Regions from separate parts of the Homo sapiens genome. Here region 1 is linked to region 2. The links are contacts of gene promoters, found by promoter capture Hi-C in blood cells and fetal thymus (Javierre and others, 2016). All regions are on one chromosome and are shown on one strand. Each heading gives the region's core, a stretch centred on a gene start or on the middle of the fragment in contact. The rest is flanking DNA. Distances are from core to core; before and after follow the strand shown.

What was found. The method cuts DNA at HindIII sites, captures the fragments that hold promoters and counts their contacts. A CHiCAGO score of 5 or more calls a contact.
Region 1: a fragment that was not itself captured here is called in contact with the fragment with the promoter of COL27A1 in region 2 in 6 of 17 cell types (endothelial precursors, M1 macrophages, M0 macrophages and 3 more); the score reaches 12.3 in endothelial precursors.

The regions. Positions count from the first base shown.
Region 1 is chr9:114,298,388-114,301,115 of GRCh38, reverse strand. COL27A1 (collagen type XXVII alpha 1 chain) reads right to left here. Exons shown (of 61, transcript NM_032888.4): 50 at 993-1,046; 51 at 429-491; 52 at 1-44. Among named protein-coding and RNA genes, the nearest start is that of ORM1, 23 kb to the left of the region's middle. The HindIII fragment of the contact is 8,509 bases long and covers 1-2,728 here.
Region 2 is chr9:114,154,169-114,156,868 of GRCh38, reverse strand. COL27A1 (collagen type XXVII alpha 1 chain) reads right to left here and starts at 1,332. Exons shown (of 61, transcript NM_032888.4): 1 at 857-1,332. The coding sequence starts at 918. LOC105376225 (a long non-coding RNA gene) reads left to right here and starts at 2,601. Exons shown (of 5, transcript XR_930256.3): 1 at 2,601-2,700. RefSeq lists silencers at 166-460, 1,348-1,467. The HindIII fragment of the contact is 6,106 bases long and covers 1-2,700 here.

The DNA.
Region 1 (2,728 bases), core at 212-2,711, 140 kb before region 2:
GAAGGTCCCAGGATTCCGAGGGGCCCGACGATGCCTTCCTTTCCCTAAAGGAGACAGAAAGGCTCATGTGTCCTTGTTCCAGGGCCTGGGGAACAGACACGGGGAGCGGGGTGGAGGGCAGCCCGAGCGTCGCAAGGGAGTAGAAGGGAGACCATCTGAAGCGGGCCCAGGCCATGCATCTCCTGAGCCCCTCATTTGTGCCTAGGGGTGGACTTCAAGAGTGGGGCGATGGGGGCAAGAGTGAAAGCGGGGAAGGATGGGGGCTGAGCTGGTGGGAACGGCAGGAGTGAAGGTGGGAACCAGGCCTGTGGGCAGAAAGGGCTCATGAGTCAAGGAGCAAGAGGAGGATGAAGACAGGCCAGCTGATGGCTGGCCAACCTTGGGCCTAGGACAATCATCTCTGCTCCGACAGCAGGGAGGGAACTCACCATCAAGCCAGGTGGCCCCCGAGGGCCCTGGATGCCTTTGAAGCCAATGTCTCCAGGCGGGCCCTGTGGGAGGCAGAGAAAGGGCTGTCTGTACTTGGCAGCCACTGGGTAAAGGGCCCCCACAGCTCCCTCACCCCTGGGGTCTGTCAACCTTTGCCCTTCTTGTCAAGAGAGGCCTTACCTGAGAGGCCCCAGAAGGAGTAAGAAACACCTACAATTATTCAGCAGGTACCAGCAGTGTGTTGGCTCAGTGCTGTGTGGCATATGCCCCTGGTCTTTATTTTTGCAACAGTCTTCTACTGTCATTGCTCCCATTTTACAGATGAGGAAACCAAGGCTTAGAGAGACTAAGTGACTTTGCAAGGCACAGAGCAGGTAATTGTGTAGCTGGGCTTGGAACCTAGATCTTCTGGAGTACTGGGGGATGAGGGTGTTCATGCCTGATTCTGGCTGTTTTCCAGCCAATGTTTTCAGTGCTCCATAAATATTTGTTGAATGAATAAATGAATGAATGGGGTGAATGGATGGGACCCCACAGGAACAGTGAGCCGTGGGAGTCCATACCTTGGGTCCGAAGAGACCTGCCATTCCTGGGAAGCCCATCTCGCCAGAGTCGCCCTGCAGGAAGAACAGGAAGTGATGGAGCGAGTGAGCTCATGGTCAGCGTGTCCCGCCAGCCACCTGGGACCTCAGGGCCTGCCTTTTCCCTCCCAGCCTTTCCAGGGATATCAGTGACTCCTCTGTGAAGCGACCAAGTGAGTGTGAACAGCTCACAAACTAGATGCCAGTCCGCCTGGGCTCTGAGGGGAGCCTGTGCTCTCCGTCAGATGAGAAAGAGGAGCCCGGCTCAGGGATTCCACAGAGGAGGCTCTGCCACACTCAGGAGCTCCTGTCCCAGGTCTTCAAGGGACAGAATAAAAGGGCCTGCAGCCTCCTCCCACAGCTCTGAAAAGCTCTGTTAAGGAAGGATTCCCCTAAAAACTAAAAATAACCCAGTTCACTGAGGGCCTGTTAGGTGCCGGATGTTTTGCCTGGACCGCCACACTTCCATGCTCCCACATCAACCCAGGGACACACCATATCCCCTGTTTACAGATGAGGAAACAGGCTCAGAGAGGGCAGGAACTTGCTAAAAGTCACGCAGACACCATGTTGTGGACTGTGCTAGATTCAAACCCAGTGTGAACGATTCCAGGAACCTTTGGCCTCCTTTCCTGACCTCTGCTCCCAATCTTGTAAAGGGTTAGGAGAGCAATTGGCAAGGGGGCATGCTGGGGTCTGAGCCAAGAAGGGAGGGCTGGGGGCCCCTGGAGGCAGAAGAGCCTGCCATTATTACACATTCTTGGGGCTTGGCCTTCAAGCTCATAAGCAGAAAGCCATGTATTAGAATCTCCTAGCCTTATATTATAAGACCAGGAGCAAGTCACCTCCCTTTACTGAGCCTCAGTTTCCTCATCTGTAAAATAGGATAATACGTCATCTCCCTCCCAAGGGGCTGGAAGGATGCAATGAGACCAGGCAGGTCAAGACCCAGTGCTGATGGAGGTAGGCTGAGGGGTCAGGCTTCGGGAGGGTCCCATTTAATCTAAATTCTACCTGTTCATTTTTAAAAGATAATAGCTTTATTGAGCTATTGGTGGTTCTCTTGGTGGTTTTCATTTGTCTTATCAATGCTTATTGGATATTTGTGTATCTCCTTTGGAAAAAATGTCTACTTGAATACTTTGTCCGTTTTAAATTTGGATTGTCTTTTTATTCTTGAGTTGTAAGGGTTCTTTATATATTAGAGATACATGTTCCTTATCAGAGATATGATTCGTAAATACTTTCTCCCCTACTGTGAGTTTTTTCACTTTCTTGATGGTGCCTTTGGAAGCACAAAAGTGTTTGATTTTGATGAAGTCCAATCTATGTACTTCGCTTTTGTTGGTGTCATATCTAAGAAACTATTACCTAACACAAGGTTATAAAAATGTGTTTTTATGTTTTCTAACAGTTGTACAGTTTTAGCCTTTACATTGGTCTATACTTCATTTTTAGCTAATTTTTGCATGTGGTGTGAAGCAGAGGTCCAAATTACTTCTCTGGTACGTGATATGTGATTGTGTGATTGTCTCAGCACTGTTTATTGAAAAAAAATTCTTTTCCCATTCAATTGCCCTAGCACTCTTGCTAAAAACAACAGACATAAATGTAAGGTTTTATTTCTGTCTTGATTACTATACTTTTGTAATAAGTTTTGAAATTGGGAAGTGTGAGTTGTCCAACTTTGATCTTCTTTAAAGATCAAAATTTTGGCT
Region 2 (2,700 bases), core at 83-2,582:
TTGCATGCTGCTGGCTCCCACACACACCCACACGCTGCGCCGGCTCCAGCACAGGCTCACTCTCTCTTACAACTCCTACTCCACACGCTGGGAATCCCAGCCTCTGGGCCCCAGCTCCGCGCAGCCGCTCCTGGGAGAGTCCCTGCCCCTCTCCGGCCCTGTCTCCCGATCTGTACACTGAGGGGTTCCGCACAGTGATCGCCCAGGGCCCTTTCTGCTCTGACATGCTGGCTCTCACTTTTTCTCTCTTACACACGTGAAAGGGACAGGAACCGAGAAGCAGGAAACACAGACACACAGACCCAGGCCGACTAACACAAACACGCGGAGATTTCCAGAAACGCGGGGACGTGCAGAGCCACACAGACACGGAGACAGGAGCAGAACCCGAGACCTGGTGACCTAGAAACTTGCGGACAATTTCACAAGAACAGATAGAAACGGAGACGTACAGGCTTGGGACCTGCAGACACTGAGACACCGGAACACACCGAGACGGCCCCAAACGGAGACCCCCCTCCTCCCCCAAGCATCCAAAAAGCCCCCCTCCGCACCCCGCCGGCCGCTCCAGGCGCCACCACCCACCCCCACCCCCGACCCCCGGGCTGGCTCTGCCCCCGCCCCAACGGGATCGGGCAGCCGGGCCAGGCGCGGCAGGGCGGGCAGCGTTCGCCAACTCTCGCCCGGCCGGGGGCGCAGCCCCTATTAACCCTTGGCGTCCCGCCTCGCGGGGGCGCAGGAAGGGGCAGGAAGCTGACGTTCCGCTGGAAGCGACCGCATGGCGGGGAACCCCGGCCCTCCCCGAGATTGGAGCAGCAGGAAGCTAGGGAGGGGGCGTCCCCGAGTTCGTACTCACCCCCCGCGCGCCGCCGCCGCCGCCGCTGTGCCTCGGGCCCCCCGCGCCGATCCCGCTCCCATGGCAGGCCCCTACTTCATGCTCCCGAGCCCGGGGGGCAAGTGTGGGCGCGCCCCATGGGGCCGCCAGCCCCCCGCCCCGCCGCGCCAGGCCGGCTTAGAGCGCGCGGCCCCCGCGCCCCCAGCGCAGCCCCGCGCCCAGGGGCGCCCGAGCAGGCAGGCAGCGCGGCTGGGGCCCCGCGGGCGCCCGCGCCAGGCCCATGGTCCCAGGAGTCCGGGCGCCGCGCTCGCCCCTGCCTCGGTCCTTTTCTGCTTCCACCAAAAAGGAAGAAGAAGCAAGAAAAAGAGAGAGAGAGATGATCAAACTTTTGGAGGCGGGCTGCTGGCGGTCCCCGGAGGCAGAGCAAGGCCGGGTGAGGGCGCGCGGAGGGCGGTGGAAGCTGCCTCCCCGCCGGCCTGGGGGAGGAGAGGAAAAGGAAGGATTTGGGGGAAATGAAGGCGATTTAAAGTCTCGGCCCGCGGTGGCTCTCCACCTTCCCTCCTCCCCGCTCCCGGCCGCCCTCTGCTGCCCCCTGCTGCCCCCTGCCGGCCGGAGCCAAGGGTACAGCCTCAGCTGGCCCACTACAGCCCCGATGGGACACCCGCCCCCCTCCTCCTTGTATAGATGGGGAAACAGATTCACAGAGAGGAAGGGGCTGCCCAGGGCTTCACGGTGATTTGATCACCGTTCTGAGATTAGGAACTTCTGACTGGTGAGGCTGGGGGTCCTCCAATGGGGGGTTGGGGTAGGGGAGAAGGGCCAAATTCTACTCCTGGAAGAAACCCACAGTTTCAGGGACGGAGCTAGGACCAGAACTTGGTGTCCAGACGCCCACGACAACCAGTATCGTGATCCCCACCGCCCACCAAAAGTTTGCGCTCCCAGACTCGGAGCGCCCTGGAGAACATATAGGGTGGGCTTGTTAAGGGTTTGCCACCCTCTCTCTCCCTTCTGTCAGCAATTGGAATCTAACCGCACCCCACCACCACCACTAACCACGCACCTCCCCAGAATCGACAAAAACTCCCTCGGATCCCATCCGGGAGCTAAGAGCTGCACACCTTGGCCCCCGGGCAAATTCTCACACCCAAAACTCCAGTCCAGCCCTGGGACCACAGCTCCCTCCGCCTCTACCACCTCTTGCCACTCGTTCACGAGCAAAGTTACACTTATTCACCGGTGCACACACACACTCCCACACGTATCCACCCTTTCCCCAAACTCAGACACACGCTCACACACGGTCCCATTCTGGGACAGCCACGCACCCTTCCTAGGTTCACACGAAACGCATCCTCAGATATCTGGGCTCAGGCGCACGCTGATACTCTACACTCGCAGAAGCATGCACACGGATGCTTACACAGGCACAAATGCACGCTATCCTGGCCATATCGCCCCCACACATGTACACACCCCGGGTGGACACACGCGCGCACACCCTCACTTGCACACAGTTCTCCGAGAGTGCCCACCGCACATGTGCACACACGCATTCACTCCTCACGCGTGTACCCACCTCCCCATACGCGCACACCTTTAGGCGCGCGCACACACAGGCATATAACACTTCGCACCGCTCCAGGAGCCCCCAAGCACTTACTGGGTCCCTACGTGCGAGGCTGGCCGGTCGGTCCTTCCTCCGGCGCCTAACGGCATTTGTATTCATGGGTCCCCGCAGCCGTGGGCGCGGGGGCGGGGGGCGAGGTCCCCTTCCCTAAACGGGGCGCGGGCGCGCGGAGCGCAGCGGCACCGGGAGGGGCATGGGCGCGCGGGACTGCGCCGCCGACCCGGTCCGCCTGCGC